7 separate regions of the Homo sapiens genome follow, and regions 2, 3, 4, 5, 6 and 7 are each linked to region 1. The links are contacts of gene promoters, found by promoter capture Hi-C in human tissues and cell types (Jung and others, 2019). All regions are on one chromosome and are shown on one strand. Each heading gives the region's core, a stretch centred on a gene start or on the middle of the fragment in contact. The rest is flanking DNA. Distances are from core to core; before and after follow the strand shown. Region 1 holds the start of ABCC12 (ATP binding cassette subfamily C member 12). Region 2 has its middle 150 kb from the start of LINC02133. Region 3 has its middle 130 kb from the start of LINC02133. Region 4 has its middle 89 kb from the start of LINC02133. Region 5 overlaps N4BP1 (NEDD4 binding protein 1). Region 6 overlaps N4BP1 (NEDD4 binding protein 1). Region 7 overlaps PHKB (phosphorylase kinase regulatory subunit beta).

Region 1 (3,567 bases), core at 399-2,898:
ACATTTAAAAATGAGGAGATACCACATTAAAAAAAAAATAAGACTGGCTTCTGGCTTTCGTCAAATATCAAGAGCTCTGTATGTTCATGTGGTGACAATCCACTTACGTTGAGCACGGCAGCCCCTCCTGGGCAGGGTATACATGCTTTAGTTTGCCACAATCCCCACCACTCCTTACTGTCTCTGTGACTCTGAGATTTGGGGTCATGTAACATTTATTATTGCATTGGCACTGCTGTCTTCCTTATAGTGTTTCCTGAGGCCTTTTTCTCTATCCTTGTCTCTGCCCCAAGAGAGAACAAAAGATGTCTAGAAGTCATCTCAAGAAGAACCATTTTCCACACCTGCCCACTTTGCTCTGTTATATTTCATTTCTGCCCCTGTCTAGCCCAGAAAATTAACAACTTTATGTTTGAGAACTGGACTCTGGGTCTTCCTTGGTGCTCATGATGGGAGTTCCTCCATCAACCAAAAGCAGGCACACCTTTAGTCATAAAATTTTTCCCAGGTATGAGACTACAGCCCTACTTCTTTCTTAATAAATCCATTGTTAATTTAAAGCCACCAAAGTTATCAATATCTGATGGTCTCCCCCAACTCCCACAGCCCCTTCCTCCAGGGCCTGACTGGCCTCCAGCACAGAGGAGACACTGGGGAGCTCTCCCAGGCCCTGCCTGCACCGCACCTCTCCTGTCTGTCCCCAGGTCCCAGGCACCTGTGGCAGCCAGATCAGAAAGCCCTGTGAGTGATGAGGGACTGGGGTTGGGAGGCAGGGAGAGGCAGAGAGGTGGCAGAGGGAAGTGCATGCAGGGGACAGCACCAAGCTGGGGGTGTGGGAAGGGAAGTGGGGGTGCTTTTGCTCAAGTACCCTCATCTCCCAGAAGGCCTAAAACAGTGGCCAGTGATGGCATCTCCAAAAGAGGTCATCCATCCAGTTACAGACACATTCCGACACGATCAAAGAAGGATGCAGAGCCTGGATTCAGAGCAATTCAAATCTACCCTCCCAGGAAAATAATATATTTAAAAGTTAAAAAAAAAAAAAAAAGAAAGAAAGATGAAAACCTCATATGAGAACTGCAGTAAAGCTTTCCAGGTCTTTTTTTTTGGGGGGGAGGTATAAATCCCATAATTAAATTGTGAACACTACCCTGTATATGTGTTTGTGTTTGTGCATGTGTGGGAAAAGACTTAAAATATTCAATGTAGGCTTTTGTATTTCAGAGATTTTGAAATCGCGTCTTGGCATTTCTGCCTTTTCTTTTATGATAGCGGGGGCTCCAAAAGTGGAAGAGGGGCTGCCTTTCTTCTGGGAGCCTCGTCCCTGCTGCCTCCCACTTGGGCAGCCCCATTCAGTGGTGTCACCTCCCCCAAACCCCCCACCACACACACACACAGCCTGTCCTGAGGATGAGAAACAAAGGCCCTTGGGACTAAATGGTGGCCACTAATTGTTACAGGGAGAAGCTTTACCTGGGCTGGAAATGAAGCTTTACCTGGGCTGAGGATGAGAGGGAGGGGAGGAGGGTCAGCAGTCATGGGGCTCAGAGCCTGGCATCTGCTGCCCAGGACTCCAGGGCCTGCTTCTCCCCAAGGACCTCAGATTCAGTTTCTCTTGTCCCACCCGCCTGAAGTCCTCCTCTCCAACTGCCCCATTCAACTGCCACTCCCACCACACCTGAGAGGGAACTCTGGCGGGCCAACATTCCCTCTGCCCACATTAAAGGGCTCTCCCCTCTTCCAGGATGGCCTGTGGCCGGGTCTGGCTCTTTGGTGACAGTCAGAGCCCATGCATGAAAGCACTGTGCATGGCCAGCCCTTCCCTGGCTGTCACAGCACATCCTTGTAGAAGAGAAGGAGAAAAATCCTCTCTCCAACCGTCATTCTACAGACGAGAAGCCCAAGGAACAGAAGCCTGTCCACGACTGGCGTGGGGCTGAGACCAGCACCCAGGTCCCCTGAGTCCCACTCCAGGCTCCTTCCTGAGAGAATGCATCGAATTTTCTACGCTGTGTTCCTGCAACCGGGAATCAACTTTGGGATCAGGGGAAGGGAAGGGAGGGGAGGGGAGGGCAGGGGTAGGGGAGGGCAGGGGTAGGGGAGGGCAGGGGAGGCGAGGGGAGGGGAGATGAGCCTCATCTTCAAAACAGAAAATCTCATTCATTCATTCCCCATTCATTTAACGAAAAAGAAAAGGGTAATTTGAGCTCAATTTGTCTTGAAATGAACGGAAGGTAAGTCTGAGACCTGCACTAGCAGCTAGCCCTTGCATAGAAAAGTTCCCCTGTGTCACCCTTGGAACCCTGCACATCCCGAGCGCAAGCGTGATTCCCGGGGTCCCTTCTGCGCCTGTCCCAGAACAAGCGCCCGATTTCAGGGGAGCCCAGCCGAAGGGTTCCACAGCGCTCAGCGAGCCGGCTGGGAGGGAGCAAACTCTCTAACTGCAGAAAAAAACAAATCTTGATTCCGCTTTAAGGGTTATTTAAACATCTTAGAGGACCTTCCCAGCCTCACGCACGTGGATTTCATGAGGAACTTGGCCGCTACCTTCTCCTGTCCTGCGCAATGCCGCCCCCTGCTGGCTGCCTTCCGGCCCCGCCGCTTCCTGGAGATGCGAATTCACCGCCTTTGCCCAACCTGAGTTCCCTTCCTACCTAGAGGGAGGTGGAAATGGAGAGGGGCTGTGGGCAGCTGTGTAGGAAAATGGGTCCTCCCAGGAAGGCTCCCCGGCCTGGGGAGTGAGCTAGACCGACAGCAGTTTCCTTACACGTGTCCAAAGTGTTCCATTTAATTTCCGTCCATTCTTCCCTTCATGAATGCAAATCACTGCTAATAATATCACTCGACATTTCTGGAGCCCTTTGTGTATCGCAAAATTCTTCATCCTCTTTATCACTTGATCTTCGCAACAACCCCGGGGGTCTCATAAACACAGCAAAGACTCGCTTCCACAATCTTCCAAACGGAGTCAAGTGCTGTCAAGTTTATGGAGGAAGAATGCCGATCAGTTTTCCTCTATCTCCATGAAAGGCTGGGCGGAGATGGATTTCCACCCAGACAAACAGTATTGGGCGCTACGCAAGAAGATTGGTGGGCCTAGCCGGAAACAGAGTGGAGAATGATGGAGAGGGACTGTCCGGTCTGTATCCAAGGAAGTCCTTAGGAAAAGACCAGCCAAGCTCCTGTTCCAGGCAGAGCGTGGACTCACCCATAGTCAGGGAACTGAGGCCCATCCTGGGTGTACACACAGCTCGCGGGGGGGCGAGATAATCCACTGGAATACAAAAAGAAAAAAAATAGAAATCCTTTTCATATTTCTCCTCTTCCTTTAAAAATTCTATTTTGGCTGTGTGCAGAGGCTCAGGCCTATAATCCCAGTACTGGGGGGCCAAGGCAGGTGGATCACTTGAGCCCAGGCATTCAAGACAAGCCTAGGCAACATGGTGAAACCCCATCTCTACTGAAAATACAAAAATTAGCTGGGCGTGGTGGCATGTGTCTGTAGTCCTAGCTACTTGCGAGGCTGAGGTGGGAGTATGAATTGAGCCAGGGAAGTCAGGACTGCAG
Region 2 (3,331 bases), core at 62-2,561, 440 kb before region 1:
CTGTAATCCCAGCACTTTGGGAGGCCAAGGCTGGTGGATCACGAGGTCAGGAGATTGAGACCATCCTGGCTAACATGGTGAAACCCCGTCTCTACTAAAAATACAAAAATTAGACAGGCATGGTGGTGGGCGCCTGTAGTCCCAGCTACTCGGGAGGCTGAGGCAGGAGAATGGCATGAACCTGGGAGGCGGAGCTTGCAGTGAGCCGAGATTGCGCCACTGAACTCCAGCCTGGGCGACAGACCGAGTCTAAAAAAAAAAAAAAATTCTTTCTTGTGTTGCTTTTATGTGTGTGTGTTTGTTTATTGACCTATGTGAAAGGAAAAGGTGTATTCACATTTTTACTATTCACAATTTCTTGACCCATAAGTTTATTTTATGCCAATTTAGACCTTCATGATCACCAATTTCATCCTGGTGATCAACATTAATTAACTTTCACTTGCAAGTAGCCATGTCCAGGTCTCCAGTGGGAAAGGACAGAGTCTGAGAATTCTCTGAGAGTCTGAGAATATGGGTTCAGGCCCCATATCTCCCTTTTTCTGGACATGGTCGACTGTTCGGCAAATCACTGATGCTCTTTGAACCGCAGTCTCCTTATCCTTTAAGTGAGTGAATTGGGCTGGATTTTTGCAATGCTCCCCTCCACCTCTACCTTTTTATCAGTTCATCTTCCATTTCTGTAACTGCATCCCCTTTCCTTTAAGTGTTTCACTCCCTTGTGTCTGTCTTTCGAAGAGCTTCTCATTCCCTTGTCTTAAATTTCACTTCTATGCTAACTCCTACACACACACATCTTGATGTATAGACACATGTACATAGATAAGAATAGATATGGATCCTGTATTGCTATTTAACCACCAGAAACTTGCACTTATCTGTCCTACTATCTTTCATCAAACCCCTTATCCAAATTTTGTAGAACTTGCTATTTCCTCCCAATACAGATATTCTCCATTCTGGACTTAAGGTCTCTTCTCTATGGCCTCCCCATTATCCCAGAACCTGCACTAATACTTAATATCCTTCTTTATCAATTGCCAAGTCCTATTGTTGTCTTCTGTCTTCGGAATCTGACATCTCCTTTCTGCTCCCACTCCCAGGACCCAGTGGCTTCGTTTCTCAGTAACCACCCACTTGATATCTGGCTCAAACCAGGAGAAAGTTCCCCAACAGGGAGTGGGGACTGCTCACTTGCCTGTCTCACTGTCTGTCATCGAAACCCACAAATGAGACAAAGAGATAATGTGGTTTAGGACTCAGCTTTCAGTTCAGAGGAATGGATGGCTGCAGCCCCAGGAAGAAATTGAAAAGCCAGGGAGCCAGATGCATCCCATGGGACCCTGCCCAGAGCTCGGCCACCGATTGCCCGGGACACCCACCCCAGTGTCCGTCAGACCCTGCCCTGAGCCCAGCCGCCAACTGCCTGGACACCCACCCCAGTGTCCGTCAGACCCTGCCCATAGCCTGGCCACCCACTGCCTGGGACACCAGCCCCAGAGTACATGAGACCCTGCCCGGAGCCTGGCCACCCACTGCTCAGGACACTAACCCCAGTGTCTGTCAGACCCTGCCCGGGGCCCGGCCACCCACTCCCTGGGACACCTGGCCCAGTGTCCGTCAGGAGTTTTGGCTCCATCTTTGCTAAACGCTTTTTGTGATTGATTTCATTTAGCCCTGACACCGTTTCTGTGAGGAAGAGACTGTTGCTGCTTCTGTTTGAGAAATGACAAAGCTGAGTAGCTAAGAAGTTAAACAGGCCCGTGCCAGGCCAGTGGCAGGGCGGGGGTTAGAGCCAAGGTCTGCAGGATTCCAGATCTGGGCTCTGAACTCCCTGCACTAATCTGCCTTACCTTTTAGACCAGCTCCTTTTGGTTTATTTTTTAACTTCTGTATTCTTTTTTTAAATGACAATTGTGAGACAAGATAGCAAACATAAAAAGCCATGTTTGCTCATTTCTGCTTGAACCCCTCACTGTGATGAAATGCAGTCCTCTGGAACAATGCCTTGAGGACAAGGCAGGACAGAGCCCGCGGCCACCCACATCCTCCCTGAGTCACTACATCCTTGAAAAGATAAATAACCTGAACCTTTGCCTTTGCCTGCACATAAGATAACGTCTGAAAGGGTAGTCATCTAGAACCAGATGTACTCTCACATCCAAACTTTGACGTGATTTTGCACATACTCAACCGCCGCCACTTGCATATAAGCTGTGGCTGAAACTGGTTTGGAGCAATCTGACCCATCTGCTCTGGGCCCTAGGTCTCAGCCTATTGTCCTCATTAAGACTTCTGAATAAAACTAACTTTAATTCTTTAAAAGCTTAATTTTTGTCTTTAGTCGACAACAACAATGGCTAAGAAAAAGCAAGTCTAAAGTGGTGTCCTCAGTGGAGGGAGAGTCAGTCTGCCCGTTCTTCATTTTTTTTTTTCTTTTTTTCGAGACAGAGTCTTGCTCTGTCTCCCAGGCTGGAGTGCAGTGGTGTGATCTCAGCTCACTGCCACCTCTGCCTCCTGGGTTCAAGTGATTCTCGTGCCTCAGCCTCCCAAGTAGCTGGGACTACAGGCGTGCGCCACCATGCCAGGGTAATTTTTGTATTTTTAGTAGAGACGGGGTCACCATGTTGGTCAGGCTGGTCCCAAACACCTGAGCTCAGGTGATCCGCCCACCTCAGCCTCCCAAAGTGCTGGGATTACAGGCGTGAGCCACCGTGCCCTGCCTGACAGCCCCCCTGTTCTAAGAATGGAAACTTTCTTCTATTTCTGTTGCCTCTGCCTCTGCTCCATTGCATCTTCCCTCCGCATCCTTAATGGAGCTCCTGAGCCCAGTTCAGGATGGCTGTCCTTAGAATTCCAGAGATTTGGTTGGGGGAGTCGTCTCTCGGGTCATTGCTTCCCATGGGCATGGCACCTTTGATTGACAAACACAGAAGGGCTTGTAAACATCTCTTCCTGTCCAGGACTCAACACCTTTTAAGATCCATGGTTTCTAAAGAAAAACCTGGATTTGGTTGAAACCATGCATTTTGTATGCCATGATTAGGAGGAGAGACAGGGGCTTCTTCCCAAGCTGTGCCCTGCCCTGATCCTGGTGAGGACCCACATGGAGTGAAACCCCTGAGGGGCACCACAGAGGGGTCGGGGAGGTGTGCGGCAGAGACTGCATGCAGGCCCTGGCATTTCCAGGGTTGTACTCATGCGGGATGGTTCTTTTGAATCCAGAGGTTTAGTCCCTAACAACTCAGACCTGCACCTGGAGGAGCACATCTTCTATAGGGGATGGCACCTTTTACTTTCACCTTAGAGTCCACCTCCCAGTCCCCATCCT
Region 3 (3,298 bases), core at 587-3,086, 420 kb before region 1:
TATACAGACACTCAGATACAAACAAAAAGCTTGTTTTAGCTGCTGGAATGTATTATAGAAGCAATGATCAGAGTGGTGAGACGAGGGGTCAGAATGTAAAAGAAGATGTTTTTCCTGCACTCTAATTTTAAGCATCCTTTCTCCCAGGGTTCAACCTTGGTTATTTTGCTGTTGTTATTCTCTCCCTTCTTATTTGGCCACATTTTCAAAGAACTGGGATTTTCAGAAGCCTAAGATCATTTAAGATACAGGTTTAAATCCTGTGTGTTTGGAGTCTTTGTACTGTGCAGTTGAGTACTTTTGACTATAATAGTTATTTTTCTAAGATGTTCATACTCACTATTTCTTTGTGGCATTTGAGAAAGTCCTGTCTTCTAATTTAGGATCATCAAATTAAAAAAAATTGAAACGCTCTTCCCCACTCCTCTCCCAAAATTATCTTCTGGCAATATTTGTGGAGCTACAATTTGCACCTCCTGTGAAAGTCTTGAGACTCCAGACCTGGAGCTGCCAATTCAGGAGCCAAGGCGGATGAGGTCTGAGTGAGCTGTTGGACAGTACCTAGGAGGCCGTAGGAAGTGGTGTTGGGTCCTGTGGTAGACCAGCAGTTCTTTACATTTACATTTGCTACCTGTTAACATCACCCAGGGAGTTTTTTATTTTTTTATTTTTTTATGCCCAAGCTGCATTCCAGACTAATTAAAACAAAATCCTTGGGAGTGGAATTCAGGTATTACTATTTTTTTTTAAGTTCCTTGGGCAGTTTTAATATGCAGCCAAATTTAGGAACTAGTGAACTAAGCCAGGATTTCTCAATCTTTAATGTGCAGACAAATGACCTGGGGACCTTGTTAAAATACAGATTCTGACTCATCCTGTCTGGGGTAGGCCTGAGATTCTGCATTTTTGGTAAGTTCCTGAGTGCTGCTGATGCTGTGGGTCCTCAGACCACAGTATGACTAACAGGATGTAAAGTAGAGAGCTCAAGCAGCCTGAAAACTTTTTTTGCAGGGGGCAGGGGACTGGTCTCCTGTATGAACATAATTTGTGCCGACAATTCAAAATTAAGAGATTTCTCATAAAAATGGTTATTTCTGGTTTCTCTTAAAAAAAAAAAATGAAAGTGCCTACAATCCCCAGCTCTGCCTTTCCACACAGACTTGTGCTAAAGAGTGACTGCCCCACAGGAGGGGGTGCAGGTGACTCACCAGGGCAGGCTCTGAAATGCCTTTCCCTGCATTTGTTTATGAATAGGATGAATCTGTCTTTCATTTTTTCCATATAGACTGGCAAGTCGTCTTAGAACGCACAAGCGTACATGTGCGTCCACAGCAAAACCACGAAGTCAAAACACCAGATGATAAAGTGGAAAAGGCAAAAGGAAAAGGGAAAGAATAACAATTCTTTAAAAGTTACATGTGTTTATCAGTAAGGAAGGTTTTGGTTATATCAGAAACTTACTTGAGCTGTTTTAAGGGAAAAAATAAATGAGGGAGAGGCTGGGTGCAGTGGCTCACACCTTAATCCCAGCACTTTGGGAGGCCAAGGCAGGCAGATCACTTGAGGTCAGGAGTTTGAGACCAGCCTGACCAACAGGGTGAAGCCCTGTCTCTACTAAAACTACAAAAAATTAGCTGGGTGTGGTGGCGCACGCCTGTAGTCCCAGCTACTCTGGATGCTGAGGCAGGAGAATCGCTTGAATCTGGCAGGTGGAGATTGCCGTGAGCTGAGATCGCACCATTGCACTCCAGCCTGGATGACAGAGTGAGACCCTGCCTCAAAAAACAAAAACAAAATAAGTGAGGGAGAATTGTAAGCATAGAACGGTGCTCATGGACCCGTGATGCAGCAAGGCTTTCAGGGAAGAATAGAACCAGGGAGGGGCCTGGCTGTCAGCAAGGGGGACCCTTTCCTTGCTTTCATCTCACTCCTCTCTGGACATTCTCCTCCTCCTGTGTCTTTGCTTTCTCGTTCTCCAGTCCACACAGTAGAAAACACAGCCACCAGCAGTACCTGCGTTTACATACCAGGGGCCTTGCTATACATTCCCAATCCATATTCCTGAGGAAGAAATTATAATGGCTCAGCCTGGTAGAGGAGGAGGGACATCGCTGTTAACTGGGAGAACTGGAGGATGTCCAGCGAAGCTTCTGTTATGCTAAGGAAACTTATTGCAATTAAGCATAAACATTGAGCCATCCTATGTGGAGAGAATGAATGCGCTGAAATTCTAGAATGGCCCCAGCCCATCCCAGAGGCAGGGGATAGACAACGAGGTGTCTCGACTCCTTTGCTCCTATGGCATCTTTGCCTTTTGAAGGAGAATCTGTCCAGTTGCAGAGTCAACTATTTCTCAATAATGATAATAATAATAATAATCCTGAAGATGCAGCAAGACCAGCAGTGCTTCACTGATTTTTTTTCCTTTCCAAAAGGCATGCAGAGCATGATAATCACCTGAAGGCAGCAGCTCCTGACAGCCGGCTACAGGCTGGCTTTCATGTTGTGGGTGGCATTAGGTAGATAACCCACAGGAATCGTCTCTGGATCTGAGGTCAGGAGAACACAGCCAAGGCTACACAAGACAGAGAAGATTCTGCTGAATTTCAAAAGGTAGGAAACTGGGTTAAATGTGAAAATGGGAAGAGAGCAGAGGAAGATATTCATAAGCCAGGTTATTGAGAAAGAATGGTTTATAAGAGTGTGCACTTACTCCCCTATAATGAGGTCTGGGATTATCTGTAAAAACATTTAGCTCTGATTGTTTTAAAAGAAAAGATAAAATGCTTAATATGTGGCACCCTGGAGTGTGCCTTTGTGTGTGTGTATTTTAAATGATCATCCTAACGAAACACCTTTAATGTACAATGGATCGAATTATACAGCTTCCCATCAGAGAGTGCGAGGGAGAACAAAGCCTCAGATGTTGTACATTCAGACAATGAGGTGAGAGCAGATTTGAGGATAAGAGGAACTGAAGTGCCTCGTATAAGCCTGTATGAATGCTCCCATCTGGTCCTAGGACTCAACTATCTGACATTGGCAAAGATGTTTCATAATACATAGGGCCAAATGCTAAGTCTACCTTATAATTAAAAATATCCCCTAGGGCTCTTCCTTGAGGTCTGAGAAAATGTGATTATACTAAAAATTATATCACATATGGGAGGAAATAGCAAAGTAACTCACCCCACTTGTCCTGGGGTGGAATCTTCAGTTAACCTTGTCAGAGATCCTAAATGTTATGTTTACTCTTTCTCTGGATCTATTAAAGCTATAGGTGCTGGCCATTCTCTCT
Region 4 (3,397 bases), core at 219-2,718, 390 kb before region 1:
TCCTCCAAAGGATCAGAGCTCTTCATCAGCAATGGAACAAAGCTTGACGGAGAATGATTTTCATGAGTTGACAGAAGTAGGCTTCAGAAGGTCGGTAATAACAAACTTCTCCGAGTTAAAGGAGGATATCTGAACCCATCGCAATGAAGCTAAAAACCTTGAAATAAGGTTAGACGAATGGCTAACTAGAATAAACAGTGTAGAGAAGACCTTAAATGACATCATGGAGCTGAAAACCATGGCATGAGAACTTCGTGACGCATGCACAACCTTCAATAGCTGATTCGATCAAGTGGAACAAAGGGTATCAGTAATTGAAGATCAAATTATGAAATAAAGGGAGAAGACTAGGTTAGAGATAAAAGAATAAAAAGAAACCAACAAAGCCTCCAAGAAATATGGGACTATGTGAAAAGACCAAATCTACGTATGATTGGTGTGCCTGAAAGTGACTGGGAGAATGGAACCAAGTTGGAAAACACTCTTCAGGATATTATCCAGGAGAACTTCCCCAACCTACAAAGGCAGGCCAACATTCAAAGTCATGAAATACAGAGAACACCACAAAGATACTCCTCAAGTAGAGCAACCCCAAGACACATAATTGTCAGATTCACCAAGGCTGAAATGAAGGAAAAAATGTTAAGGGCAGCCAGAGAGAAAGGTTGAGTTACCCACAAAGGGAAGCCCATCAGACTAACAGCAGATCTCTTGGCAGAAACCATACAAGCCAGAAGAGAGCGGGGGCTAATATTCAACATTCTTAAAGAAAAGAATTTGCAACTCAGAATTTCATATCCAGCTAAACTAAGCTTCATGAGTGAAGGAGGAATAAAATCCTTTACAGACAAGCAAATGCTGAGAGATTTTGTCACTACCAGACCAGCCTTACAAGAGCTCCTGAAGTAAGCACTAAACATGGAAAGGAACAACTGGTACCAGCCACTGCAAAAACATGCCAAATGGTAAAGAACATCGATGCTATGAAGAAACTGCATCAACTAATGGGCAAAATAACCAGCTAACATCATAATGATGAGATCAAATTCACACATAATAATATTAACCTTAAATGTAAATGGGCTAAATGCCCCAATTAAAAGACACAGACTGGCAAATTGGATAAAGAGTCAAGACCCATCAGTGTGCTATATTCAGGAGAACCATCTCATGTACAGAGACACACATAGGCTCAAAATAAAGGGATGGAGGAAGATTTACCAAGCAAATGGAGAGAAAAAAAAAAAAAAGCAGGGGTTGCAATCCTAGTCTCCAAAAAAACAGACTTCAAACCAACAAAGATCAAAAGAGACAAAGAAAGCCATTACATAATGGTAAAGGGATCAGTTCAACAAGAAGAGCTAACTATACTAAATATGTATACACCCAATACAGGAGGACCCAGATTCATAAAGCAAGTCCTTAGAGACCTAAAAAGAGACTTAGACTCCCACACAATAATCATGGGAGATTTTAACAACCCACTGTCAATATTAGACAGATCAATGAGACAGAAAGTTAACAAGGATTTCCAGGACTTGAACTCAGCTCTGCACCAAGCAGGCCTAATAGACATCTACAGAACTCTCCACCCCAAATCAACAGAATATATATTCTTCTCAGCACCACATCACACTTATTCCAAAATTGACCACATAGTTGAAAGTAAAGCACTCCTCAGCAAATGTAAAAGAACAGAAGTCACAACAAACTGTCTCTCAGACCACAGCACAATCAAATTAGAACTCAGGATTAAGAAACTCAATAGAAACCGCACAACAACATGGAAACTGAAGAACCTGCTCCTGAATGACTACTGGGTGCATAACGAAATGAAGGCAGAAATAAAGATGTTCTTTGAAACCAATGAGAACAAAGACACATGTACAAGAATCTCTGGGACACATTTAAAGCAGTGTGTAGAGGAAAATTTATAGCACTAAATGCCCACAAGAAAAAGTGGGAAAGATCTAAAATTGACACCCTAACATCACAATTAAAAGAACTAGAGAAGCAAGAGCAAACACATTCAAAAGCTAGCAGAAGGGAAGAAATAACTAAGATCAGAGCAGAACTGAAGGAGATAGAGACACAAAAAACCCTTCAAAAAAATCAAAGAATCCAGGAGGCTGGTTTTTTGAAATGATCAACATAATCCTTTGGGTATACACCCAGTAATGGAATCGCTGGGTCAAATGGTATTTCTAGTTCTAGATCCTTGAGGAATCACCACACTGTCTTCCACAATGGTTGAACTAGTTTACTCTCCCACCAACAGTGTAAAAGTGTTCCTATTTCTCCACATCCTCTCCAACATCTGTTGTTTCCTGACTTTTTAATGATCGCCATTCTCACTGGCGTGGGATGGTATCTCATTGTGGTTTCGATTTGCATTTCTCTGATGACCAGTGATTATGAGAATTTTTTCACATTTCTGTTGGCTGCATAAATGTCTTCTTTTGAGAAGTGTCTATTCATACCCTTTGCCCACTTTTTGATGGTTTTTTTAAATTGTAAATTTGTTTAAGTTATTTGTAGATTCTGGATATTAGCCCTCTGTCAGATGGGTAGATTGCAAAAATTTTCTCCCATTCTGTAAGTTGCCTGTTCACTTGGACGACAGTTTATTTGCTGTGGAGAAGCTCTTTAGTTTAATTAGATTCCATTTGTCTATTTTGGTTTTTGCTGCCATTGCTTTTGATGTTTTAGTCATGAAGTCTTTGCCCATGCCTATGTCATGAATGGTATTGCCTAGGTTTTTTTCTAGGGTTTTTATGGTGTTAGGACTTACTTTTAAGTCTTTAATCCATCTTGAGTTAATTTTTGTATACGGTGTAAGGAAGCGATCCAGTTTCAGCTTTCTACATATGGCTAGCCAGTTTTCCCAGCACCATTTATTAAATAGGGAATACTTTCCCCATTTCTTGTTTTTGTCAGTTTTGTCCACTCATGATTTGGCTCTCTGTGTGTCTATTATTGGTGTATAGGAATGCTTGTGATTTTTGCATATTGATTTTGTATCCTGAGACTTTGCTTGAATTGCTTATCCGCTTAAGGAGATTTTGGGCTGAGACGATGGGGTTTTCTAAATATACAATCATGTCATCTGCAAACAGGGACAATTTGACTTCCTCTTTCCCTAATTGAATATGCTTTATTTCTTTCTCTTGCCTGATTGCCCTGGCCAGAACTTGCAACACTATGTTGAATAGGAGTGGTGACAGAGGGCATCCTTGTCTTGTGCTGGTTTTCAAAGGGAATGCTTCCAGTTTTTGTCCATTCATTATGATATTGGCTGTGGGTTTGTCATAAATAGCTCTTATTATTTTGGGATACGTTCCATCAATACCTAGTTTATTGAGAGTTTTTAGCATGAAGAGCTGTTGAATTTTGTCAA
Region 5 (3,566 bases), core at 917-3,416, 380 kb after region 1:
TTGCAACTACTCTTTAGTAGGGAGGTGTTTCTCAACCATGAGGGCACGCCGGGTCACTTGGGATTACCAGAAAACGTGGATGTCAGATTCTGATCTCTAGGGTCTGGGGTGTGGCCTGGGCAGCGCTGCCCCTGGGGATCCCAGTGCACAGCCAGGGTCACAGACCACCAGCTCTGAGGGCAGCAGCACTAGCCCTTGACAGATGAGGGCCCGAGGCCTTGAGAGGCTGCGTAACTTTCTCAAGGTCACGGAGAATAAGTGCAGGAGCAGGTGATGCCCTCACTCCACGGGCTGGCTGGGCATGAGGCCTTCAGAAGAAGGGCCATTCTGGTTGTTCTCTCCCTTCCCTGGCACTGTCCCCTGCATGAAGTGGCTGCTCAAGACCAGGGATGGAGGAACCCTGGAGGGGCTGGGAAGGTGCAGCATCCGGAGGGGATGAGGGGTTTGGGCCCCACCCCTCACCGGCTGGGCCTCATGTCCCTTAGCCACACAGTGGGAAGAAGTAAGGGTTCCCAGCCCTTCTCAGAGTGGAGGTGTGACATGCCAGGGATCCTGAGGGGCTGGCAAGGGGAGAGGGTCCTGCTGGCATTGAGAGACACCCTGGTTTGGGGGAAGTCCCCTGAGCAAGCCCACGTGCGCAGCTGCTAGGGGCAGGCTGCGGGAGGCCCTCTTCTTCCTGCTGCCTGTTTTGGTGGCTGAAACTTTAGACTGATCCAGGAGCCAGACAGGCGGGCAGACAAGCGCATTCTTTTTGGGGGAGGCCGCCGCCTCCTCTTCTCGCTAGAAGCAGGGAGGAGGGGAGGACAGGGCCTGCCCAGGCCTGACCCCAGACTGGGTTTCAGGCTGTGGGGCCAAGCAGGGCTCCCTGGGGACTCGGGGCTGGGGAAGGAAAGCCCCAAAGGCTGGAGTCTGCGGTTTGGAGTCCTGTGACTCTGGGAGCTGAAGCCACCAGGCAGGAGGGGGTGAAAGGGGGCTGGTTTAAGAAGCCCTAAGCCTCTGGGCTTTTGGCTCCAGCACTGGCTGTGGGTACTTCTGCTCTGTTTCTGGGCAAATCCCTGCCTGCCCAGTCCATTTCCCCAGTGAATGCCCCCAGCCCTGGCATCCTCGGTGTGTAGGGGATTGGAACCTGAGCCGGGAAAAAGGCCACGTACAGTTTCCAATCAACATCAACTCATCTGTGTTTCCCGAAATGAAGTGCAAGGTGGCTCTGATGCATACATGGGCTCACTCCTGACACAGCTTCTGCAGAACTGGTCAACTTCTTTAAAAAAATATGCTCTTGGCATCCTCTCGCAGGAACAGGGCTGGATACGGGCCCACCAAGCAGGAAGTGGGGAGGCAGCTTCCTTCCGCAGCCTCCCTGTGCCCTGAAGACTGACAGCCTTGACCCAGGTCTGTCATGGGCCCTCAATTCTTTTCCTTGAAGGGTGGAGGTATCTTAGGTGCCATACCAGCTGCTGAGTCACCTCTGGTGCAGCTTTGCCTTTCAGGGAGGTGGGATGGCCCATTGGAATTCAAATCCTAAATCCTGGACATCTTAGCTTGAAGAAATGGAAGTTCCTGAGCATCTCTGTACCTCAGTTTCCTCCTCTGCAAAATGGAGATAATAACAGCAGCACTTTAGGAGTGAGGTGAGGATTAAAGGAGACAGAAGCTTGCCGGGCACATGGGTGGTGAGGGCACGACACTGGTTGCCGGCCTCAGCTTTCTCAGCACCCTGCAGGCAGGCAGTGGCTGTGCTCACTTCCTCCGGGTGCTCTCTCTGGTGACGGCACCCGAGGGACTCTCCCAAGTGCCTGCCTTGTTCAAGGAACAATGCCCTCTCTAGAACAGCTGGACTTCCCATGGCCCTGCTGAGGCACTGAAAGAAATGTAGGCCCTAACCTAAGCACCCTCATCATTGGACCACAGGGATAAAGGAGTGCGTTCAGAACCTGGAGGATGACGGCTTAGCACTTGGAGATAAGACCTGGCTGGTGGGGGTGTGGGATGACCTGGAAGGGTGGCGAATAGTTAGGTAGGTGTCCGCAGGGCTGCTGATCAGAGCCCCAGTAGCAGTCACTGAGCGGGGCTCTGGGTTGGGCACAGTTCTAAGCACCACGTTTATTCCTCATGTCACCCTTGAAGTAGAAAGCATTATTATGCCTATTTTACAGGTGAGGAAATCCTCATCTGTAAAATAGGCATAATAAAATAATGCTTAGTTACAGTTCTGAAGTATACAGAAAGTCAAACTCCAAATGAACAGTGCTGGCATTTGCCCAACTAGGGAACTGGGGAAAAGAACTGCCGTCAGGGGACTGAAGAGGCAGTGGGATGGGCACAGAGCCACGGCAGCAGGGAACAGCTCGAGAGCCAGGCCGAGTTCTCTGCTGAGGGGCACCAGGCCTGAGTTTCAAGTTACTCAACTCCGAAATAGTTGGCCCCTTCCAGCATTTTCTGACTGGGGTGGATACTCCTGAAGCCCTGTTTGTGCAGGTCTTTGGACCTTTCTAAACAATCTGCAAATCCTTGCTAAAGACAGTAACACGTGTTACTCAAGACTCGATTTCAAAGGACGTAAATCCAACTGGAATGACCAGCTTAAGCAAAAAGTGTGTTAGAATACTGGGGTGTGGTGACGTCCGAGGAAGGGCTTTCCTGACAACAGGAACCCAAGGCTCATGCTGCCAGGAACCTCTCTCACGTCGCCGCTTCTTTCCTGCCACAGGTCGACTTCCCCCAGGGTGGAAAATGGCTTCTGACAGACCTGGGCCTGGCATCCCACGATTCCCACCACCACAGAGGAACTCCCCAGGAGTGACTTGGACTGGCATAGGTTGGGCCGGCTGTCGGCCCTGGCCAGGAAGCCTGAGTGCATCTAGTATGCAGCCTGCGCCAGGTACCCCTCCCCGGACCTGTGTGCCCAGGATGCCATGTGCTGGAGCCTGGCAGGGGAGGGAGAAGGGAGTGGAGTGACCCCAGCCCCACCCCACTGTCCCACTGCAGGGCAGTGGATTCCCGGCCTCTTACTGGTCCTGCTGCCAGATGCCGCAGTCAAGAAGGCACTGTCCTCCAGTTCAGTTGAGCAGACATTTATTAAGCACCTATCAAGTGCAAGGCACTGTGCTAGGCGCCGTGGGAAATACAGAGAACACAGGCGGTCCCTGCCCACGAGGAGCTCACAGTCTAGAAAGGGCAGCAAGACAGTACACAATCAGTGGCAGCAGCACCAGCCAGAGTGGCAAGTGCTCAAAGCGAGACACAAAGTGCTGTGCGGTCACAACATCATGGGGATGCTTCTGGCAGAAGCACTGGAAAGGAGACGAGGACTCAGGCTGGGCCTTCCAGGAGGGAAGCCATTTGGGAGAAGGGCATCTCTAGCGGAGAGAGGTCCATCTGCAGAGCCCACAGGTCATGGGAAACATGTGGCTGCAGGGAGAGTTTGGGGACAGTCAAGTATGGCTGGGAGGTGGACAGCCACGGACACTAAGCTCAGGAGATGTGAACTTTGTGGTCTGGTCAAACAGCCACTGCAGATCACTTCGCAGGAGGAGGGGTGACTAGAAGTATGTTACTGGAAGGTA
Region 6 (3,664 bases), core at 1,071-3,570, 400 kb after region 1:
ACTCATGGGTATTAGAAAGAAAAAAAGACTAAAATCTCAAACTGTGATGCTGTAGTTTATGAGATTAGCATAATCTATGTTCACTGCTTCAATGGTCACTTAGATTCCAGCGACAATACTCCCTGCATCTTCAGTCCTATCTTCTCTCCATGTCTAATGCTGCATGCCAAAACTGCTCTGTAGAAATACTTCACTTGAAAGTCCTGCCATGATGGGCATATGTGTCCCGAGTTAAACCCAGGCTCTCCTAATTCCAACCTACCCTGCAAATTCCAGTGAAACTAACTTTTAAATGCAGCCCAAGGCCTTTGATTCTGCTCAGGGCCTTCAAAGGCACTGTCCTACACTAATCCTGCCTGGCTTCCAGGACCCCTCCTCGTCTGACTCGTCAGAAAGGATCTGGCCAAGTGACCCTCCCACTACCATGAGACAACCCTCTTGGTTTTGGCCAGGTCTTGCTATCTCACCCCTCCCGGTCTCTGAGCCTTTCCTTATGTTGCTTTCTATATGTGTGATGCTCTTGCACCTTTCCTTGCTCCTTCTTCAAATGCCCTCAGGACTGAATGGGCTGAATTCTGGCCCGTCTTCTTCTATGAAGTTATTTCTAGACACAGGGCCTCTCTCAGCCTCCTTCCTCTTCTGAGTTCCAATCCTGTATGGTGCACGAGAATCACAGAGATAGAATGGCATTATGCCTGTTAGAAAAAGGAGTCACTAGGGAAAGAGCAGCCTGCCTGGGTTGCAGAGCCAGGGGGATGAGCTGGATCATACTCCGGCTTCCTCACGCCTGCCCTTTCCACGACCCCACAGTGGGACTGTCACCCCACCTGCATGTGCGTTCCTTGAGAGCAGGAAGAGGCTGGACACTTCACGAACATCTAATGCTCTGTGAGATTCACAAGAGCTACGCACAGACTCCTCTTTTTAAAGGCTATTTCTTTTTCAGTGAACCATAAATAAGATATTTCAGAGGCTCTTACCCCAGAAAATATATGTAAATAAACACACGCAATCTTGATAATTCAGGAGTGCTTTGTTTATCTAAAGGCATTCAAATATGGCAAGAAGGTAACAAAGTGACATTTTTAACTAGAAAAAAGACTGGGGGTGGTTCTTTAAAGGGGGCCTCTTTTAATCTTCCAAAAACAATAAATCATCCATCACTCTAATTGCTTAACAGCAGGGACATGCCCAGAGTTAACATCAACCACAGCCCTAATTTGAAAATCCACAACAGAACAACCTGCTGGTTCTTAGAAAAACCAAGAAATATGTATATTTAGTCCTCAAAAGGATAACCCTTGAGATAACTGCACTGAAAAGGTTTTTAAGGTGGCTCCCTGATTACTTTGACAGATACAAATGTGTGCTACCTACTCTCCCTCTTTTCCTTAAAGCTTCTAGTGATGGCAAGAGGAGGAACTGGATAGAGGAGGAGTACCCAGTTCAATTCCACTGGGTCACTATGTAACAAGGAAGGAAATGCAGACCGATGAATTCTGCTGCCCTGGACTCCTTACAAGTCTAGAGGGGGAACAGATGGAGGTTCTAGAAACATCAGCTCTCAACTAAATTCCAAAGTGTTATTCTCAGTAATAAGATCATATCACTTTTGATACTCTAAAAAAATCTCAGGAATGGAATTAAAATAGAGGTTCAAAATTCTGGTGGAGAACATACAAATTTACCCAAAAAATAAAACTACAATGACAAAAAATTAAGTGAAGCCAAATTATTGTCCTCAAAATAATACAGAGGGTCGATTAAGGACCCTTCTTCCTACTTCAAGTCCTATACCCTGAGCAGGCAGACATGTGCTTACTCATCACTGTCTCCTAGCCTCTCTGCAATCAAACCAGAGTAGCATGTTGACAGGTAAACCCAGACCAAAGGTCTATTTCGACCCAAAGTATATATATAATAACACCTTGCTACTTATGGGAAGGCCAAAGCTCTGGGGCTCCCAGTTCCAAATGCAGAATGAACAGTTATCAAGTCTGGGAGGCCAGGTGTCCAGGCCCTCAAGACATTTAAATGCCTGCTTCCATATAATTGGTTAAAGGTTATATCATCTGGTTGTTTGCCATATTATAGAATGCTGGCAACTAAAAGAAAGTGTCCAAAGTGGAGGAGAGATGGGTGACACACAGCTGATAAAAACTCATGGCAGCCATAGCACCAGACAGGGCAGTGTGGGGACAATGGAAAGTCCTTTCTGAGTTACCCAGGAAAAAGCGATTTCTTTTTATGGAACCCTAATATGGAAAAGACTAGTATGGAAAAAAAAATGGCTAAAATACTTAATTCTGGCAAGGGAAGGGGCAAACCCCATCTACATGGAAAACTATCACCCCATATGTCAGGGGCTCTCATGCTGAAGTTTCAGGCTGACAGAGCCCAAATGTTTCTTGGCCACTACTGTGCTGTCTAGCCATACACCACAAACAATTTCCACTTACTCATCATTTGACTCATTCATGGTGACAAGGGGGCAAGAACAAGGTATACAAAATTGGCAGCATTAAACAGGGTACTGTGGAGGTTTTCATGGTGGTATGGGCTGCAGACCTCATTCTGGATAGGCAAATGAACAAAGGCTTTACAAAAATACATCGAAGGGTGGGCCTAGGCTGCTTTAGGGTGGGGCTCACACCAACAGATCCTATTGCTTAAGGACCAAATAAGTACTTCCCCAACTACTTGGGTCAAATCAGTGAGCTTTAGTCAGCAGTGCTATGCAACCCAAGACTTAAGTATCCAATGATGCGTTGGCCTGAAAATTCCAACCTTAACTTCTGCTGGAGGAGAGAGGGTATACAGCAGCTCTGGGGAAAGACATTATGGGCCCAAATCTCTATCCATGTAACCCTGGAAAACATTTTTAAGCCACTTCATGTTGTATAAATTATAACTTTTGACTCACAATTGGTGTGAAGGTTGCATTTTTAAAAATACAGTGCCTGACACATAATAATGGGTGATTCGGCTTTAAAATCTCAAATATTTGTTGCATTAAATATATGGCCTCAGTTAAAAATCTAAACTGGCCACTGGAATAGTAACCATGAAGTTACAAATAGGTAGTAAAAAGCCACTAAAAAAATCCTAAACTGGGCATGGTAAGGCATGCCTATAGCCTCAGCTACTAGGAAAGATTGCCTGAGCCCAAAAGTTTGAGTCCAGCCTGGGCAAAATAGTGAGACTTTACCTCTTAAAAAAAGAAAAATTCTAATTTGCCTTTAATTCATCAACAAGTTTTTACTGAGCTCCTACTATGTGTCAGGGACTATGGGTATTAGAGGTAGTTCACTGAACAGAAGAAACACAAATCAGTTTCTTCATGGAATCTAGTCAAAGTTTATTCACACTTAACATTGAAGCAACTGATTTAAAATAAGGGCTGATTTTTTTCCAACTTCCAAAAAAAATTGAGGTAAAATTCACACGACTAAAATAATCAATTCAATGGCATTTACTACGTTCGCAATGCCGTGCAACCACCACTTACATCTAGTTCCAAAATGTTTGTCACTCCAAAATAAAACTCTATACCCATTACGCAGTTTCTTCCTAGAATATGGGTAAATCTTAATTACTGATATTTTCAGATCAATTTACATCAAATTAAGTACAAGTCTGTCTTCTTAAAGTAACACATTCTCTT
Region 7 (3,683 bases), core at 1,180-3,679, 470 kb before region 1:
GATACCCTTTCTTCCAGTTGATCGCATCGGCTCCTGAGGCTTCTGCATTCTTCACATAGTTCTCGAGCCTTGGCTTTCAGCTCCATCAGGTCCTTTAAGGACTTCTCTGCGTTGGTTATTCTAGTTATCCATTCGTCTAATCTTTTTTCACAGTTTTTAACTTCTTTGCCATTGGTTTGAATTTCCTCCTGTAGCTCGGAGTAGTTTGATCGTCTGAAGCCTTCTTCTCTCACCTCATCAAAGTCATTCTCTGTCCAGCTTTGTTCCGTTGCTGGTGAGGAGCTGCATTCCTTTGGAGGAGGAGAGGTGCTCTGCTTTTTAGAGTTTCCAGTTTTTCTGCTCCATTTTTTTCCCCATCTTTGTGGTTTTATCTACTTTTGGTCTTTGATGATGGTGATGTACAGAAGGGTTTTTGGTGTGGATGTCCTTTCTGTTTGTTAGTTTTCCTTCTAACAGACAGGACCCTCAGCTGCAGGTCTGTTGGAGTTTGCTAGAGGTCCACTCCAGACCCTCTTTGCCTGGGTATCAGCAGCAGTGGCTGTAGAACAGCGGATCTTGGTGAACCGCAAATGCTGCTGCCTGATCGTTCCTCTGGAAGTTTTGTCTCAGAGGAGTACCCGGCCATGTAAGGTGTCAGTCTGCCCCTACTGGGGGGTGCCTCCCAGTTAGGCTGCTCGGGGGTCAAGGACCTACTTGAGGAGGCAGTCTGCCTGTTCTCACATCTCCAGCTGTGTGCTGGGAGAACCACTACTCTCTTCAAAGCTGTCAGACGGGACATTTAAGTCTGCAGAGGTTACTGCCGTCTTTTTGTTTGTCTGTGCCTTGCCCCCAGAGGTGGAGCCTACAGAGGCAGGCAGGCCTCCTTGAGCTGTGGTGGGCTCCACCCATTTGGAGCTTCCTGGCTGCTTTGTTTACCTAATCAAGCCTTGGCAATGGCAGGCACCCCTCTCCCACCCTCGCTGCCGCCTTGCAGTTTGATCTCAGACTGCTGTGCTAGCAATCAGCGAGACTCCGTGGCCATAGGACCCTCCGAGCCAGGTGTGGGATATAATCTCCTGGTGTGCCGTTTTTTAAGCCCATTGGAAAAGCGCAGTATTAGGGTGGGAGTGACCCGATTTTCCAGGTGCTGTCTGTCACCCCTTTCTTTGACTAGGAAAGGGAACTCCCTGACCCCTTGTGCTTCTCAAGTGAGGCAATGCCTCGCCCTGCTTCGGCTCGTGCACGGTGCACTTCACCCACTGTCCTGCACCCACTGTTTGGCACTCCCTAGGGAGATGAACCCAGTACCTCAGATGGAAATGCAGAAATCACCCATCTTCTGCATCGCTCACGCTGGGAACTGTAGACCGGAGCTGTTCCTATTCGGCCATCTTGGCTCCACCTCCAATCATTTGTTTAACAGCAAACTTAGCAGATCCTTGTCTTATCTTGAAATCTTAAAATGATTATTTAAAAAAAATTATTTTTTCCAAGGATCAGTTCTATTCTGTATGGCTTTTTTTTTTTTTCCAGAAAATTTCAGCTGGTCAGGTGCAGTGGCTTATACTTGTAATCCCAGCACTTTGAGGGGCCAAGGTGGATGAATCACTTGAGCCCAGGAGTTTGAGACCAGTTGGGCAACATGGCAAAACCCCTTCTCTACAAAAAAATTAAAAATTAGCTGGGTGTAGCGGTGCCTGCCTGTAGTCCCAGTTACTCGGGAGGCTGAGGTGGGAGGATTGCTTGAGGTGGACATTGCAGTAAGCCAAGATCACAACAGCTGCACTCCACCCTGGGTGACAAGTAAGACCGTGTCTCAAAAAAAATAAAATAAAATTTCAGGTGTTCTGGTTTACCACTGCTGTCAGATTTCCATGTACTTTATTTCATATTGTACTCCTTAATTGGGGTATATCGGAAAGAAACATGCCAATACACACACTGTATCCTTACTAGCCTCCAAACAAGAGTGTTTTTAAGCCGGGCGCGGTGGCTCACCCCTGTAATCCCAGCACTCTGGGAGGCCAAGGTAGGCGGATCACGAGGTCAGGAAATCAAGCCCATCCTGGCTAACACAGTGAAACCCCGTCTCTACTAAAAAATACAAAAAATTAGCTGGGCGTAGTAGCGGGCGCCTGTAGTCCCAGCTACTCGGGAAGCTGAGGCAGGAGAATGGCGTGAGCCCGGGAGGCAGAGCTTGCAGTGAGCCGAGATCATGCCACTACACTCCAGCGCTCCAGCCTGGGCGACTGAGCAAGACTCCGTCTCAAAAAAAAAAAAAAGAGTGTTTTTAAAAGGATAAGCTTATTCCCAGAACTGTCTGAAGAATACTAACATTCCCTTTTGTGCTTTTCCAGCAGTCCCAAAGAATTCATTGTCCTTAAGTCAAACCTGGATATATATGAAGGTTGATTTGGTCAGTCGTGTGTATCTACCTTCTCATTTGCTTGTTGGCGAGTAGAGCATCTCTGGCTCTTACACAGACTGAATGTATAAGACTCTGGGCCATCCATAACCTTCATTATTTTGACCTTCCACATTTTCTTTCTTCTGCCCTTTGTTCCTTCCTTCCTTCCTTCCTTCCATCCATCCATCCATCTTTTCCTTTCCCTATTTTGTATTTAAATGCTTTTGTACTGGCCAGGCACAGTGGCTTACGCCTGTAATCCCAGCACTTTGGGAGGCCGAGGTGGGCGGATCACGAGGTTAGGAGTTCAAGACCAGCCTGTCCAACATGGCGAAACTTCATCTGTACTAAAAATACAAAAATTAGCTGGGTGTGGTGGCGCACGCCTGTAATCCCAGCTACTCAGGAGACTTAGGCAGGAGAATCACTTTAACCTGGGAGCCGGAGGTTGCGGTGAGCCAAGATCACGCCATTGCACTCCAGCCTGGGTGACAGGGCGAGACTCCTCCTCAAAAAGAAAAAAAAAGAAAGCTTTTGTGCTAAAATTATCAAATCAGATTTTATGGCCTTGTCATTGGGAATGAGGGATAATTAGCCTGATTTTCCTATGTCCTTCTTTATTAGTAGTCCTACAAATGGATAAAATGTCTTTGATATTCTTAACTGTGTTACTCCTTGGTAATTTACTTTCTGTAGATTTCTGACTGCTATTAATAGTTTTATAGTTTATGTCTAAGGCTGTTTTGCTGTTTTTATTTGAAGAATTCCAAGGTATAAAAAGATTAGTTTGACCAACAATTTTAATGAATAAATGTGGTTTTTTTTCTTTTTCTTTTTTTTTTTTTTGAGACAGAGTCTCACTCTGTTGCCCAGGCTGGAGTGCAGTGGTGTGATCTCGGCTCACTGCAAGCTCCGCCTCCTGGGTTCACACCATTCTCCTGCCTCAGCCTCCTGAGTAGCTGGGACTACAGGCGCCTGCCACCACACCTGGCTGATTTTTTGTATTTTTAGTGGAGACAGGGTTTCACCGTGTTAGCCAGGATGGTCTCAATCTCCTGACCTCATGATCCGCTGCCTCAGCCTCCCACAGTGCTGGGATTACCGGCATGAGCCACCGTACCCAGCCAATAAATGTATTTTAATAATATGACAGATTGTATTTATTTGTGCTTGAATGAGTGAAAAACCTGCTTCCTTTCATGATTTTTGAGAACAGTGTTGTCAATAATTTGCCCACAAAACTGCTGAGATTTTGTAAATGGAAGTCTAAGGGAAAACATTAAGGTCTCCAGCTATC

What was found. Contacts are between HindIII fragments. The study calls those that stand out against the background at their distance.
Region 2: a fragment that was not itself captured here is called in contact with the fragment with the promoter of ABCC12 in region 1 in 2 of the 25 tissues and cell types used here (dorsolateral prefrontal cortex and lymphoblastoid cells).
Region 3: a contact is called between a fragment that was not itself captured here and the fragment with the promoter of ABCC12 in region 1, in 7 of the 25 tissues and cell types used here (H1 embryonic stem cells, IMR-90 fibroblasts, dorsolateral prefrontal cortex and 4 more).
Region 4: a fragment that was not itself captured here is called in contact with the fragment with the promoter of ABCC12 in region 1 in 2 of the 25 tissues and cell types used here (IMR-90 fibroblasts and mesendoderm cells).
Region 5: a fragment that was not itself captured here is called in contact with the fragment with the promoter of ABCC12 in region 1 in 2 of the 25 tissues and cell types used here (dorsolateral prefrontal cortex and spleen).
Region 6: a contact is called between a fragment that was not itself captured here and the fragment with the promoter of ABCC12 in region 1, in 1 of the 25 tissues and cell types used here (bladder).
Region 7: a contact is called between a fragment that was not itself captured here and the fragment with the promoter of ABCC12 in region 1, in 2 of the 25 tissues and cell types used here (dorsolateral prefrontal cortex and mesenchymal stem cells).

What each region holds. Positions count from the first base shown.
Region 1 is chr16:48,154,345-48,157,911 of GRCh38, forward strand. It overlaps ABCC12 (ATP binding cassette subfamily C member 12), which reads right to left and starts at 1,649. Exons shown (of 31, transcript NM_001393797.1): 1 at 1,497-1,649. The HindIII fragment of the contact is 12,201 bases long and covers 1,278-3,567 here.
Region 2 is chr16:47,711,273-47,714,603 of GRCh38, forward strand. No RefSeq gene overlaps it. Among named protein-coding and RNA genes, the nearest start is that of LINC02133, 150 kb to the right of the region's middle. The HindIII fragment of the contact is 3,782 bases long and covers 1-3,202 here.
Region 3 is chr16:47,731,750-47,735,047 of GRCh38, forward strand. No RefSeq gene overlaps it. Among named protein-coding and RNA genes, the nearest start is that of LINC02133, 130 kb to the right of the region's middle. RefSeq lists an enhancer at 1,965-3,164. The HindIII fragment of the contact is 6,735 bases long and covers 1-3,298 here.
Region 4 is chr16:47,768,002-47,771,398 of GRCh38, forward strand. No RefSeq gene overlaps it. Among named protein-coding and RNA genes, the nearest start is that of LINC02133, 89 kb to the right of the region's middle. The HindIII fragment of the contact is 3,324 bases long and covers 1-3,130 here.
Region 5 is chr16:48,535,668-48,539,233 of GRCh38, forward strand. N4BP1 (NEDD4 binding protein 1) reads right to left here. Exons shown (of 7, transcript NM_153029.4): 7 at 3,059-3,566. Among named protein-coding and RNA genes, the nearest start is that of N4BP1, 73 kb to the right of the region's middle. RefSeq lists enhancers at 668-1,037, 1,068-1,137, 1,898-1,967, 2,907-3,406. The HindIII fragment of the contact is 3,094 bases long and covers 620-3,566 here.
Region 6 is chr16:48,554,553-48,558,216 of GRCh38, forward strand. The region is part of intron 2 of N4BP1 (NEDD4 binding protein 1); the gene reads right to left. Among named protein-coding and RNA genes, the nearest start is that of N4BP1, 54 kb to the right of the region's middle. RefSeq lists a silencer at 2,566-2,860. The HindIII fragment of the contact is 4,191 bases long and covers 226-3,664 here.
Region 7 is chr16:47,682,528-47,686,210 of GRCh38, forward strand. All of the region lies in intron 26 of PHKB (phosphorylase kinase regulatory subunit beta), which reads left to right. Among named protein-coding and RNA genes, the nearest start is that of LINC02133, 170 kb to the right of the region's middle. The HindIII fragment of the contact is 3,079 bases long and covers 891-3,683 here.